Regions from separate parts of the Homo sapiens genome. Here regions 1, 2 and 3 are each linked to region 4. Evidence: promoter capture Hi-C in human tissues and cell types (Jung and others, 2019). All regions are on one chromosome and are shown on one strand. Each heading gives the region's core, a stretch centred on a gene start or on the middle of the fragment in contact. The rest is flanking DNA. Distances are from core to core; before and after follow the strand shown.

Region 1 (3,664 bases), core at 541-3,040, 1.1 Mb after region 4:
GGTGGGATCACTTGAGCCTAAGAGTTCAAGTGAGCCCTGATCATGCCAGTGCCTCCAGCCTGAGCAACAGGGTGAGACCCTGCCTCTAAAAACTGAACAACAAAAAAAATCAGTAGGGTGTCAGCTACGGGAGTTACTGTTTCGGTGCAATCAGATTAGGATGAGAGGATCTGAACTGATGAGCATTGCAGTAGGTGAAAGACGGTAAGTGGCCATTTCTATTAGCATTAAATAGTCACTGATGTGGTTTCATCAGGATTCACAATACATGTGTGGCTCCCAAATTGAGTTTCAAAGTCTTGGGTTCATGGTGTCCCCTGCCCAGCAAAATAAAGTGCAAATCTTACGGAGCAACACATTTTAAGTTCAGGCCTCAAGTACTTCCAGAGACAAAAGTCCTGGGGACACTGGCTCAGAATGGGGGAAAGGGGACCCTGGGCCAAGAGTCAACCAGGATGACATGCAGAATCAGACCTGCAAGGGCTGCAGATACTGTAGTTATGAGGCACACCCAACGCTTAAAGATAAATATGTGGTTGGAAGTATAAGAGCCTATTAAAACTGCTAGAATATAAGAAATCAAATAGGACAAAAACAGAATCATTGGCAGGGTGCAGTGGCTCACGCCTGTAATCCCAGCACTTTGGGACGCCGAGGGAGGCGGGTGGATCACTTGAGGTCAGCAGTTCAAGACCAGCCTGGCCAACATGGTGAAACCCCGTCTCTACTAAAAATACAAAAAAATGAGCCGGGCGTTAATAGCGCGTGTCTGTAGTCCCAGCTACTCAGGAGGCTGAGGCAGGAGAATCGCTTGGACCCAGGAGGCGAAGGTTGCAGTGAGCCGAGATCGCGCCATCACACTCCAGCCTGGGCGACAAGAGCGAAACACCGTCTCAAAAAAAAAAAAATCGGTGCAATTAATAACCCAGTGGATGGGTTAAACAGATTGCACGTAGCTGAAAAGTAACCGAAAATCTGGACTGGCGCGGTGGCTCACGCCTGTCATCCCAGCACTCTGGGAGGTCGAGGCGGGCGGATCACTTGAGATCAGAAATTTGAGACCAGCCTGGCCAACATGGCGAAACCCCGTCTCTACTAAAAATACAAAATTAGCTGGTCTGTAATCCCAGCTACTCCGGAGGCTGAGGGAGAAGAATCACTTGAACCCAGAAGGCGGAGCTTGCAGTGAGCCAGGATCGCGCCACCGCACTCCAGCCTGGGCGACAGAGCAAGACTCCATCTCAAAAAAAAAAAAAAAAAAGAAAATCTGAAGCAGTCAGTGCAGTAGGGAGAAGTGGGCGAAAGGAAGGAGGCCACGCTGCTGGGTTTCAGGATGAGATGGGCGTTGAGGGTGCATTCACAGAATCCCGGGAGGAGCCAGCTGAGCGGGGAAGGCATCAGGAGAGGGGAGGCACTGAGCGGGGCGCGGTGCTGTAGGGAACGGAGGCTCATCAGGGCGGCCGGGATTGAGGCGCAGGCGCTGAGCCTTCACCTAAGTCCGCCGAAGTGTGCAGAGCCTGGAGACGGGATCGAGGTCACCGGAAGCCCACGGTTGCGGGGACATGATCAAGCTACAGCGCGCTGGGGGAAGCGACCACTGCCGCCCCGCGGATCCCACCGGCCTGGCCGGGAGCTCCCTCTGCCCGGCTCACCCGCGCTTCCGGCCCGAAGCCCGGCTTCCTCTGACGTCACGGCCCCTGCGCCCCCTGGCGGCGCGGCTGCGGCGGGACGCGCGGGCACCGCCCCCTCCGGCTGGAGGGCGGGACTTCCGGTGAGTGAGTGACGGGCGCAGCCTCGGCAGCGGCGGCGGCGGAGCCCTGAGGCGACAGCAGCTGCGGGAGGCGACGGGCTGCGGCCTGCGGAACCTGAGGCAGCTGGGGAGGGCCGGGCGCGCCGGCCGGATAGCGAGCCGCGCTGGCGGCGGCGGTGGCCGCGATGATGGAGATCCAGATGGACGAGGGCGGCGGCGTGGTGGTGTACCAGGACGACTACTGCTCCGGCTCGGTGATGTCGGAGCGGGTGTCGGGCCTGGCGGGCTCCATCTACCGCGAGTTCGAGCGCCTCATCCACTGCTACGACGAGGAGGTGGTCAAGGAGCTCATGCCGCTGGTGGTGAACGTGCTGGAGAACCTAGACTCGGTGCTCAGCGAGAACCAGGAGCACGAGGTGGAGCTGGAGCTGCTGCGCGAGGACAACGAGCAGCTGCTCACCCAGTACGAGCGTGAGAAGGCGCTGCGCAGGCAGGCGGAGGAGGTGCGTGGGCCGCGGGACCCGCCCGCATCCCCGTCCCGGACCCCCAGCCAGCCCCGGGCCCCGGACCCAACACCCGTCCCGACCCCAGACCCCGCTCCGGCACCCCGGACCGCGGGACCCCTGGACCCCCAGACCCCGCCCCGAGACCCGCCTGGACCCCATATCCCCCGCCCCGGGACTTCCCCACCCCCTCTGCCCGCCGTGAGACACCTCCCTAGAGCACTCCCCCGCCTGCCCCGGGACCCCACCCCGACTCCCGGGGACCCCCTTTTCCGCCCAGGCCTGGGCCCTGGCCCCCTCCTCCGTGCCCCCAGCCCTGAATCTTCAGCCCCAAACCCGATGTGCCTGGCGTCATCCCCGGGGAGCTCAGCTTCAAAGCCAGGCCTCACTCTCCCCTCCCCACCCACCTCTGCATGACAATTGCCTTTGCTTTCGTGCGTGTGTTCAGTCAAAACCGTTTCCCGACCCCAAGTGCTACCTCTGTTGGCTGCCATTCTAAACCCATCTAGAAAAGGAATCTTTTGGTGTTCTTAGGGGGCTGCAGCCGTCTGTGGATGATGTTGGAGACCTTTCCCTTGTCCCTAATCCCGTATTTTGAAGGTCTGTGACACGGGTGAATTGGGTGGTTGATGTAAACACAGAACAAGGCCGCAGGCGGGCTGCTCCTCTGTCAGCAGAAGGAACACTCGAGTTTCTGGAGGTGATGTCTTTGCCCCCTTGGTTCCTTGCTTGGCGAGATTGTTAGCTGATGTAGCCAGGGCTGAGAAACTCCACTCTGGCTTCTGAGGAGTTAACAGTCTGAGTTTGAAGCGTTTAATTCTGTGCTAGGATGTCTCCATAACCTGGAAATCGCTTGTCTGTGAAGCAGTTACAAGAGCCGGGCCCTGTGGGGAGCACCACTTAGCTTCATTCATTCACCGTCAGATACTGAGCTCGGCCTGCCTGTGTGTGGGCCCAGAACCTCGCCCTTTGTCAGAAACAGGTTCAGGGAGGCTGGTTCCCATCCCTGCTTTGCCTCTGTGACCTTGGCCTGTCGCCTGCCTGGGGTTCGATTTTCCATCAAAGGAGTGAATTGCACTAGGCGATCTCCAAGCCCAGAAATTCTCTCATTCTAGGAGTTAGGTAATGCTGTTTGACTTATGAATAGAAGTGTCTTAGGAAATGAGCTTCAATTCCTTTTCAATTAATTCGGCTTAACACATTCTTGACTTTAATAGGAAAATAAAAGATTGTGTCAGTATTTTGGCTTTTTCTGAAACCAAGGTGATTTATGGCCTAGTTTGGTTTAAAGCGTGTTTATAAAAATCATAACAGTATGTTGTATCATTCCTCCTTTCCTGTGGTTTCTATTGCGTTTGGGCTTCGTGTCTGTCGCGAGGTGGTTATGCATTGATTGGAATGCCCCGGTTCC
Region 2 (2,548 bases), core at 49-2,548, 1.3 Mb after region 4:
CTGGAGCAGGGGGCGGCGCTCGTCGGGGAGGTTCGGGCCGCACAGGAGCCCACGGAGTGGGGGAGGCTCAGGCATGGCGGGCTGTAGGTCCCGAGCCCTGCCCCGCGGGGAGGCAGCTAAGGCCTGGCGAGAGAAATCGAGCGCAGCGCCGGTGGGCCGGCCTGCTGGGGGACCCAGCACACCCTCCGCAGCCGCTGGCCCGGGTGCTAAGCCCCTCATTGCCCAGGGCCGGCAGGGCCGGCCAGGCTCTCCGAGTGCGGGGCCCGCCGAGCCCACACCCACCTGGAATTCGCGCTGGCCCGCAAAGCACCGCGCGCAGCCCCGGTTCCCGCCTGCGCCTCTCCCTCCACACCTCCCCGCAAGCTGAGGGAGCCCGCTCTGGCCTTGGCCAGCCCAGAAAGGGGCTCCTCAAGTGCCGCCAAAGTGGGAGCCCAGGCAGAGGAGGCGCCGAGAGCGAGCGAGGGCTCTGAGGACTGCCAGCACGCTGTCACCTCTCACTGTTTGTCTGTAGGGTTGATGGTTCTGTGTCGCTGGCCTCAACCTCAGGACAGGACATGACCAGTGTCCCCCCTGGATAGCAGCCAGGGGCCGTGCCAGGTGTGGAGACTGAAGATGTGGCCAGCAGGACCCTGCTCAGTGGAGCTGCCTAGAAGCACCAGAGTGCCCCAGGGCCAGGATGGAACCATCAAAGCCGGCCAGAGGGCCCTGTGCCCAGGGTAGGTGCCTTCTCCCTATGAGCCGCCTAAGGGCAAGCCCTGCCTCCTGGTCTGCTCCCTGCCCTCCCCCAGACAGGCTCCCAAGTTAACTGGCACCAGCCAGTCCATGAGGGGCCCTTGTAGAGAGCGGGGCCCAGAGAAGTCTGTAGGGACTAGGCAATCCAGGAAAGCTTCCTGGAGGAGTAGGGTGTTTGGAATCGCGTGCTATTTGTTCACTTTGTCGTGTGCGCTCTAACGGCCTGTGTTCTCCATCACAGTTTATCTTATTCCCTGCTGCACTCAGCACAGTGCCTGGCGCGCAGTGGGAACCGAATGACCCCCTCCTATTCCTTATGTCAGTTGCCTTTTGTCTGTTTCTTTCATCGTAAGCAGGAATCTGTCCGGTTCGCGGCTGCTTCCCAGGCGCCCAGACCAGCGACCAGCACCGCGTAGGCGCTCGGCACAGACCGAGAACGGAGGCCCCACGCGGGGGCGCCCTGCGGCGAGGCGGGTCCCGGCCGCGCCCGGCGGAGCCGGGGAACTACAAGTCCCATGGTGCATCGCGGCGCCAGCGCGCAGACGCAGCCGCCCTCGGCGTCCTCTGTAGCGGGCGACCTAGGCCGCGGGACCCGGACGGAGGTAGAGGCCAGGGCAGCGCGTCCGGGAGCGGAGTCCGCGCCCGCCGCCGCCATGCCGGACAGCTGGGACAAGGATGTGTACCCTGAGCCCCCGCGCCGCACGCCGGTGCAGCCCAATCCCATCGTCTACATGATGAAAGCGTTCGACCTCATCGTGGACCGACCCGTGACCCTCGTGAGAGGTACGAAGCCCCAGCCCGGGGCTCCCTCGCCGGCCTCTGGGGACCCCTGGATCCCACACCCTGCCTGGATCCTCCAATGCCTCCGGGGTCCCGTCTGCCTGAGACCGCCCCCCGCTGCACCCCGGGGACAACTCCCCACCCCCGGAGACCTCCGAGCTCCGTCGCCTCCTTTGGCCTCCCACTGCACCCCGGACCTCACCTCCCAGGATCCCTTACTCTCCCCTGCACCCCGGGATGCCCCGCTTCTTCCCAGGACTCTTCCCTCCCTGCCGCACCCAGCGCCCACTGCCCCAGGACCCCGCACTGCTCTCCGCCCCCCGCCGCCCCGGGCACCCCTCCACTGCACCGCTGGCCTCAGGCCTCTCTCAAATGTCTCTCTGCCGGATGACCAAGTGTCGGGGTGATGGCCGAGATGCCCAAATTCAGCATCTCTGGAACGAACCGGGAAAATGCCCAGTTCAGTTTTTGTTGTTTTTTTTTTTCCTGAGACAGTCTCACTCTGTTGCCCAGGCTGGAGTGCAGTGGCGCGATCTCGGCTCACTGCAACCTCTGCCCCACCCCGGGTTCAAGCGATTCTCCTGCCTCAGCCTCCCCAGTACTAGGATTACAGGCGCACCACCACCACGCCCAGCTAATTTTTATATTTTTAGTAGACACGGGGTTTCACCATGTTGGCCAGGCTGGTCTCGAACTCCTGACCTCAGGTGATCCTCCCACCTTGGCCCCCAGGTGCTGGGATTACAGGCCTGAGCCACCGTGTCCAGCCTGGTTCAGTTCTTTTTGAACACTTGGGGTGCATAGCATGCTCTGGTGGTTCTTCCGTAAGAGGGTGAAGTCTCCAAATCAAACCCCCAAAGATCTGGAAACCGTGCAACAGCGGACCCAGCTCCCTCTCTTTTGTAGCAGTTGTAGAGCATGTCTGTCCTATGTGTCTGGATGTTCGAGCTCTCCTTTTAGCTCGTTCATTTCCCAGTGAGGAAGCTGAGGCCGTAAGGTGGTAAGTTCTGCTTGCTGGAGGCTCCCTGTTGGAGCC
Region 3 (3,835 bases), core at 945-3,444, 1.5 Mb after region 4:
GCTGGCTGAGCCTGGGGTGACTCTGGAGCAGGGGCTGGAGGGAAGGGACTGGGCAACCAGAGGGGACCATGGAAGCAAAGCTCATGGGGACAGCCCTGGGCTCACGGGGCCCTGGAGGATACTGCTGGACACCCCCCACCTCGTGGCCCAAACTCAGCTGTACTTTACTGAATCAAAATACATCTTACTCCAAAGCAGGCCAGCGTTGCCATGACGACGGAGCTAATTCATGGAGGGATTTCTCCTCTGATTTATTACACCCGCCCCTGTGAGTCAGAGAGCAGGAGCCGGGGCCAGGGCAGGTGTCTCTCCTGTCCCAGAGGCCAGGCAAGACAGGCAGAGACCCAGGTGAGAGTGGAAGCCCCCACACCTCCCCAGAATGGCCACAATAGAAGGGAGGAGGAACCTCCCCAGAGCTGAAGCCCCCACTTCCCCAGCCCCTGGCCCTGGGCCGTCCAAGACTGCGGTCATTGCTGGCATTTACTGAGCACTTACTGAATGCCTGGGCTGCAAGTGCCCAGGCTCACTGGTCTTAGGACCCCACCGTGAGGCTGACATCCCATCCTACAGACGAGGAGACTGAGGTCCACTGAGCTGGAGTTGTCTGTGTCCAAGGTCATGCGGCCACTAGGTGGAAACCTTTACCTTGCCTTCCCTCAATCCCTACACCTGCTCTCCAGGCTCAGCTGAGGCTGCCTCTGCCCACAAGCTCTCCCTTTCTGAGCCCCCGGACCTGAAATCAGCTCGGGGCCAGCCTGCAAGGCACCGGTGCCCCCTCTCTCTTACTGCACAGAGTGGACAGGAGCTAGCCAGTCATGGGCTGCTGGTGAAGTACGGGGGAGGGGGTCCTCCTGGGACTCCTAGGTGCCCCCAACAATCTCCCAGAAGCCAGTCCCAGTTCTCGGCATCCCCCTGGAGGAAGGGGAGGGGGACTCTCTGGCTTACAGTCTGTGGGGGTGGAGGGAGGAGGGAGGACGCCCAGACCCCACGTGCCGACCTGCAGAGCCCTGTCCGTGCCCGCACAGGTGCCCTGACACACTGACACGGCTATACGTGCGCAGCCGCACACGCGGCTGGTCCACACGCCCATCCATCCATCTCCGGCGGCCCCCAGGGAGGCTACGCGCTGAGCCAGGATGAGTGCTGGGACCAGGGCTCCAAGCTCCCAGCCCTTTCCTGGGGCCGGCCATAGGGCAAGCTGGGGATGGCCAGTGGTGGTCCCCCACTCCCTCATGGCCTCCTTTCCCAGCAGGGAAGCTGGAGACCCGGCTCTGCTGGAGCCTGCCTGAGCAGGGCCCCAAGCCCTTGCGCCCAGGCCGGCCCTGCCTGGAGTCCAGCCTGCCCTGGGCTGGGCGACCTTGGGCCTCTGCTCTCCCATCAGTAAATGGCACCCCACCGGCCATGCCAGGGCAGCCACACCCCCAGCGTGGTCCTGCCCCCACCTTCCCTGCAAAGCGTGTTATTAAACGTGGGGCGGGAGGGGGTCTGCTAGGGACTGTCACCTCCCGGGTCGCCCCTCGCCGCAGGGGCCCCCTCCCTGTCTTCCCGGTGCGTGTGGTGGGTGGGGGGGGCATCCGCCTCGCCCTTTGAAGGCCCCAGCAGAGACCTCCAGCTGTCAGCCCGCAGCCTGGGAAGGGAGGGGGACAGAGGTAGAGAGAGAGGGATGCGAACGCCCGCGGCCCGGGAGGCGGGTGCCGCCAGGTGCCCGCTGCGGGGCTCACGGTGGCGGCCGGCTCTCGGGGCCGCCCCATCTCCAGTGCTGGGGGCAGCGGGTGGAGGGCACGGACCAAGGGTCTGGGCGCTGCTGGCCCCGCCCCGCCCCCGGGGACCCGACAACGTCCCCTCCCCGCCCGGCGCCGGGTGGGGGGCTCCGCGCCGGGGAGGGGCCCCCGGGGCTCCCACCCGCGCCCCGCGCCCCCGGCACTCACTGGCCTTCCCGGGCCGCGGCCTCTGCAGCAGCCTCTGCGCGGTCCCTACGTCCTCCGCCTTCACCGCCTGCACCAGCTCCTGCTCCTTCCCCATGGCGCGGCCGGGGCCGCAGCGACGCGGCTGCGCTCGTGAGCTCGGCGCGGCTCAGAGGCGGCGGCGGCCCCGCGGCACCGGCCGCCTCCCCCGCCGCCTCCCCCGCCGCCTCCTCGCCGCCCGCCGCCCCTTCGCCCTCCTCGGGCTCCGGCTTGGGCTCGGGCTCCCGGCGCGGAGGGGGCGGGGAGCGCGTCACGGGCGGGGGGCGGCCCGGGGGCGGGGGCGCGCGGCGGGCGCGGGGCGGGGGCGCGGCACCTGGCGCCGCCTCCCGGACGCCGGGGTCCGCTCCCGGGCCGCCGACCTCCGTCAGCCCGCGCCGGCCGCGCGCCCGGGCCCGTGGCTCCGCCCTCCCCGCGCCCGCCCCGGGACGCCCCCTCCCCACGTGCGCGCAGCGCGCTCAGGCCAGGCCTCTGCGGACGCGGGCGGCCTGGGGCTGCTAGCCGGGCTGGGGACGCGGCCGCCGGGGGTGCACTGGGAGCCCCGACGCGGCGGCGGCGCGGGGCTGAGCCCAGAGAGGCTTCCAGAGGCTGCGGGACCCGCGGGGGACGGTTCCGAGGCAGCGGGCGGGCGGGGACCGGGCGCCGAGAGACCCGGGCGCCAGTGCCCCTGGAGCCGGCCCGCCAGGCTGTCAGGCGTTCCTGGCCCAGGGTTCCCGTGGGAGGTGTCGAGGGATTGTGAAGAGGAATCTCCCAATAATGAATTCGGTGTCAGGGAACCCGCACCCCCAACCCCCAAGCATCCTCCTGCTCCTCTCCGCAAATAATGCGGGCGCCACAGCTTCCCCCAGCCTCAGTCCGAAGCCTGACCCCAAGGTAGCCCCCACCACCCCCACTGAGGGAGCTCAACTCCCCACTCCCCGCACCGACTGGGGGTCGCCTCCATCTCCATCCACAGGGGCTGGAACCTCCCGCCGGCACCAACCGACCCCCGGCCCACGTCTGCCCACTCTCCAGCCTGCAGCCCAGGCAGGCGAGTCCTGCTTCCTGGGTGCTGGAGGCCCCGACTTGTGACCCTCTGAGCTCCTGGCTGAAGGCTTGGGCCACCCTGCGCCTCAGGCCCTCTCCCGTCAGGCCTGCAGCATTCTAGAGGCAGATCAGTGGGGGTCTGAGTCCCGACTCAGGCTCCGTTTCCCTCATCACCCAAGCGGGCAAGGCCGTTTGGAGAATTTGGGGAGGGTCGCACCCATTCTATGAGGCATGGCCTGGCACCCCACTCTGTGTGGCCCCAGACCATTGAGCAGGTCCAGGGGGACAGAGGAGGTCAGACAGCAGGGACAGGGAAGGTGACAGGCACCGGGGTCCCGGCATCCTGTGGGCAGCTGGCCGTTCCCGTTCCCTCCGTGGGGTCTCCTGTTAGGTTCAGGTAGCAGCCCTTGGTCTTCCAGCACTCCTGGGAGGGGTCCCCAAATGCTAGGGCCTTTCCTCTTGCCCTTTCCAATGACCAGTTGAGTACCCGCTGGGTCAGGCACTGTGCTGGTCACCTCCTAGATGAGGTTGGACTCACTGTCCCCATTTTACAGATGAAGAAACTGAGGCTCAGAGAAGCCAAGGGGCTCACCTGGGGTCCCAGAGTCTTGAGGTTGTAAGTCTGGGCTTTGCACCCGCACCTCTGGATGTGTCCTATTCCCCCTCTTAGTGGTTTGTGACCATGAGCTGGTCACTTTGTCATTCTTTTTTCTGAGACAGGGTCTCGCTCTGTCGTCCAGGCTGGGGTGCAGTGACGCCATCATAGCTCACTGCAGCCTCAACATCCCAGGCTCAAGCAGTCCTCCCGCCTCAGCCTCCTGAGTAGCGCCCGGCTAATTTTTTTTGAT
Region 4 (4,043 bases), core at 229-2,728:
GAGCCCCCCAACCCTGTCCCCCCAGGAGAGACCCCCCAGCCCCTCTGATCCTGACCCAGGCCCTGCCAGGTTCCCACCCCAGGGGATGAGGGAGGGGACTCTTGTGCAGAAACCCCTTCTTCCCAGCGCCTGCCGCACTCGGAGTCCGGGTGAGCGGCTTGTGGTTAGCTCCAGGGGAGACTTGCCGGCTGGCCTGGGAGGCAGCATCACTGCCCAGCCTTCTCTGCCCACAGACTTTGTGCCCATTGACCTAGACGAGTGGTGGGCGCAGCAGTTCCTGGCGAGAATCACCAGCTGTTCCTAGTGGCTGCTGGGAGGGGGCGCTGCTACACGGCCGACCTGTCGCCAGGAGAGAAGCATGGCGCCCTGCCCACCCACTGCGCCTGGCTGGGTGCCGGCCACACCTGAAGTGCCAGCATTTGGACTTTTGCACCTTTTTTTCCCTTGGCCCGGCTGTCCCAACCAAGCTGCCATGGCCAAGGGCCGAACCCGTCTGACCTCAGCCCTGCTCACTGTGCCCAGGGACCAGCGACCAGCCCCTGGGGCTGGCAGGGAGGAGCTCCAGGCTAATAAAGTGGAGAAACTGTCTTTTTGGAGTGTCTTTGACTTGGGAGGGTGTAGGGGGGGTTCTCATGTCCAGTTCCAGTCCACAGCCTGGGACGCCAGGCCCAGCACAAACTCCCCTTGTAGCCCTGTTCCTTCAAGCCGTTAGCTTCTCACCCAGCTGCCCTGCGACAGGTAGGAGGGACGTTAGCCAGCCCACCTTGCTTGGAAGTCTGGGGACCCCACTTGGTTCCTCTTTCCTCTCCCGTTGGCGTTGACTGGGACCGAAGCCGAGACTCAAGGCCTAAAGACATTAAATGGCCCCGGAGTGCAGTCCACCACCCCCCACTACCGGCACTGGGGCTGTGTCTCAGAACGCCAGGTCCCATTCTGAATCCGCCGGGCCCGGCCGCAGGACACTGGGCGAAGGAGTACGTGGGGAACCTGATAGGACGAACGTGGGAACCAGCCCCTCCGCGGGCGCCCGCACTACCTTCCCTGATGGACGGGGATGACCCAGCCCACCTGAGTCAGGACCCAGGGTACCCAGGTGTGGAGCAGGGGCCTCTGGACGGCGAGAGAGCGGCAGGGTGAGGCCCGGCCGTCCGTGGCATGGCCAGGCCTCAGCGCGACCTCGCCTCGCTGCTTGCATGCGGCGGGAGCCCCGGCCGGCCGAGGCGCTGACAGGTGGGCGCGGCGGAGGATCCGCAACCGGCGCGGGCTTCGAAGCCGGTCGGGCTAACAGGGGGCTGCCTTGGGAGGCCCGCGGGGCAAAGGGCAGCGGGATTCGCGGCTGGAGCAACCCTGGAGGCCGCTGACGTGAGCGGGGTACTCCCACCGGGGAGGTCACGTGGCCAGGGCGCCGCCATGACGGCGGAAGTAATGGCGGAAGTGGCACCGTTGCCAGGCAGCCGTTGCCTGGCGTCGCGGGGCGTACTCTGCGCTGGGCGCGCGGAGGCCTAGGCGGGAAGCTCGAGCGGCGGCGCCATGGCCCGAGGTAGCGCGCGGCTGGCGGGGGTCCCGAGGATCCCGGGTTCCGGGGTTCCGGGGTCCAGGGTCGGCGGCCGGAGCGCTCAGGGCCCCCGCCTAGGCCCTGAGGCCAGAGTCCCCGCTCAGGCAGGGTCCCGTCTGCCGGGCGCCCACCCTCGGGCTCCCGGAGCTTGGCTTCCCTCGGGCGCCCGGCCTCGTCCCGCCAGCCTAGCTGGCGTTGGCGTCGCCGGGGAAGGCGCGGAGAGCCCCGGCTCCTGCCTGGTCCCCGAGGCCCGGCCCAGCCCCGCAGTGGCCCCGGCTCGCGTGGCCGAGTCCCCTGACGCCCGGCGCCCGCTCCCCGCAGCGTGGCAGCACCCGTTCCTCAACGTCTTCAGACACTTCCGGGTGGACGAGTGGAAGCGCTCCGCCAAGCAGGGGGACGTGGCCGTGGTCACGGTAGGCGGCCGGGGGCTCGCCCGGAGCCCACACCCCTGCCCTGCCCCCAGGAGAGCTGCCCCGCCCCCGAGGGCCCCCTCGCCCCCGCTGCACTTCTTCTGGGTGCTGTCGGTGATGCGGGCTCCCGCTTCTCCAGGACAAGACCCTGAAGGGCGCCGTGTATCGCATTCGGGGCTCAGTCTCTGCCGCCAACTACATCCAGCTCCCTAAGAGCAGCACCCAGTCTCTGGGGCTGACGGGACGATACCTGTATGTGCTCTTTCGGCCCCTGCCCAGCAAGCACTTCGTCATCCACCTCGATGTGTCCTCCAAGGTACGGAGCCCGCGGCTGGGGGCTGCGTGGGAGCCCCGGCACCCCTGCGGCCCCTGTCTCCTCACGGCCCTGCTCCGTCCCCACAGGACAACCAAGTCATCCGTGTGTCTTTCTCCAACCTCTTCAAGGAGTTTAAGTCTACGGCCACGTGGCTCCAGTTTCCCTTGGTCCTGGAGGCCAGGACACCTCAGAGAGGTGACACCAAGATGGGGTGTGGATGATCCAGGACAGGTGGCTGGAGGGAGTTGGTGCAGGCCCAGTGAGGCTCCTCTGCGGCCTGGAGGACAACCTGGCGGGGGCACAAGCTCACAGTTCTGGGAGTCGCGGGCTGTCAGGAGGGTGGGCGCTGACCCTGAGTGCCCATCCTGCAGATCTGGTGGGTTTGGCCCCCTCCGGAGCCCGCTGGACCTGCCTGCAGCTCGATCTGCAGGACGTTCTCCTGGTCTACCTGAACCGGTGCTACGGCCATCTCAAGAGCATCAGGCTGTGCGCCAGCCTGCTGGTCAGGAACCTGTACACCAGTGACCTGTGCTTTGAGCCTGGTGAGGGCCGCACCTGCACTCCCCACTCCATATCTCACCCATGCTCTCAGCCCTGGAGAGGCCCAAGTCCAGGGTGCTTGGGAAAATACAGTGCTCGAGCTGTGCTGTCTCTGAGCTCTGGCCAGAACCCATCCCAGAGGCAGCCCTGGGGTCAGAACCCATCCCAGAGGCAGCCCTGGGGTGGGGCGGTGGCTGGGCTGGTGGCGTGGCAGTGCCTTGGCGGGTGCCCTGTGTTCAGGTGGCTAAACAGCCTCCCTTGACCTGGAACAACCCTGCTCCTTGTAGCCATCTCTGGGGCCCAGTGGGCAAAGCTGCCCGTGACTCCTATGCCTCGGGAAATGGCATTCCCTGTGCCCAAGGGAGAGAGCTGGCATGACCGCTACATCCACGTCCGGTGAGTGGTTCTGCTTCTTTCGAGGGAGGCCTCGGTGGTGGGAGGGTGGGTGGCCCTTGGGCCCCCAGACACTGACTCTCCCTCTGCCTGCCAAGGTTTCCAAGTGAGAGCTTGAAAGTGCCTTCCAAGCCGATTGAGAAGAGCTGTTCCCCTCCTGAGGCAGGTGGGTCTGGGGGGTCAGCGGGGACCCAGGTTAAGGCCTGTAGGGTGCGTGGGGCTCGGTAGGAGAGGGCAGGGCTGGGAAAGGACCCAGTGGTGTGCTGGCTGCAGCTGGTGCAGGGACCCAGGGAAGCCCGTAGGTTGTCCGAGTTCCCAGAACCACGAGGGTGGGAAGTCTGTGTGAGGGGTACCCGGGGGCCCCAAGCTTTCTAGCTGGAAGAGGAGACTTTCAGGGCCTAGGGTGGAAGTGGGGATACTGGCTGTGGGTCCTGCAGAGCCGGTGAGGCTGGGCCACTTGCTGCTGCCCTCCCCAGGCGTCACCCTCACCAGGCATCTGCACAGCTGGCCCCTGGGTCACTGGGGTTCTTTGCTCTGTTCTAGTCCTCCTGGGGCCGGGGCCACAGCCTCTCCCTTGCCCGGTGGCCTCCAGCAAACCTGTGCGGTTCAGTGTGTCTCCAGTGGTCCAGACGCCCAGCCCCACAGCCGTGAGTACCCCCTTCGCCCTATGAGATGGGGTTGGGGTGTGATGGCCCAGGACGCTGATGGGCACTTGTCCCCCAGCAGTCCGGCCGGGCCGCCTTGGCACCCAGGCCCTTCCCGGAGGTCAGCCTGTCCCAAGAGCGCTCAGACGCCTCCAACGCGGATGGCCCCGGTTTCCATAGCCTTG

What was found. Contacts are between HindIII fragments. The study calls those that stand out against the background at their distance.
Region 1: a contact is called between the fragment with the promoter of MAPK8IP3 here and the fragment with the promoter of WDR90 in region 4, in 1 of the 25 tissues and cell types used here (spleen).
Region 2: a contact is called between the fragment with the promoter of NDUFB10 here and the fragment with the promoter of WDR90 in region 4, in 1 of the 25 tissues and cell types used here (lymphoblastoid cells).
Region 3: the fragment with the promoter of CASKIN1 here is called in contact with the fragment with the promoter of WDR90 in region 4 in 1 of the 25 tissues and cell types used here (lymphoblastoid cells).

What each region holds. Positions count from the first base shown.
Region 1 is chr16:1,704,405-1,708,068 of GRCh38, forward strand. MAPK8IP3 (mitogen-activated protein kinase 8 interacting protein 3) reads left to right here and starts at 1,791. Exons shown (of 32, transcript NM_001318852.2): 1 at 1,791-2,253. The coding sequence starts at 1,936. RefSeq lists silencers at 344-638, 1,545-1,884, 2,155-2,264, 2,285-2,334 and an enhancer at 1,122-1,986. The HindIII fragment of the contact is 16,634 bases long and covers 1-3,664 here.
Region 2 is chr16:1,958,240-1,960,787 of GRCh38, forward strand. NDUFB10 (NADH:ubiquinone oxidoreductase subunit B10) reads left to right here and starts at 1,299. Exons shown (of 4, transcript NM_004548.3): 1 at 1,299-1,515. The coding sequence starts at 1,386. RefSeq lists an enhancer at 1-356 and silencers at 1,079-1,388, 1,819-1,928. The HindIII fragment of the contact is 2,906 bases long and covers 266-2,548 here.
Region 3 is chr16:2,194,411-2,198,245 of GRCh38, forward strand. It overlaps CASKIN1 (CASK interacting protein 1), which reads right to left and starts at 2,195. Exons shown (of 20, transcript NM_020764.4): 1 at 1,929-2,195. The coding sequence starts at 2,022. The HindIII fragment of the contact is 36,898 bases long and covers 1-3,835 here.
Region 4 is chr16:647,887-651,929 of GRCh38, forward strand. It overlaps WDR90 (WD repeat domain 90), which reads left to right and starts at 1,479. Exons shown (of 41, transcript NM_145294.5): 1 at 1,479-1,540; 2 at 1,877-1,968; 3 at 2,105-2,281; 4 at 2,368-2,476; 5 at 2,653-2,823; 6 at 3,109-3,217; 7 at 3,313-3,380; 8 at 3,758-3,861; 9 at 3,941-4,043. The coding sequence starts at 1,531. It overlaps MCRIP2 (MAPK regulated corepressor interacting protein 2), which reads left to right. Exons shown (of 5, transcript NM_138418.4): 5 at 234-588. The coding sequence ends at 304. It overlaps LOC105371038 (a long non-coding RNA gene), which reads right to left and starts at 1,427. Exons shown (of 2, transcript NR_135177.1): 1 at 1,069-1,427; 2 at 572-729. RefSeq lists enhancers at 44-93, 1,516-2,338 and silencers at 1,514-1,613, 1,724-1,853. The HindIII fragment of the contact is 7,525 bases long and covers 1-4,043 here.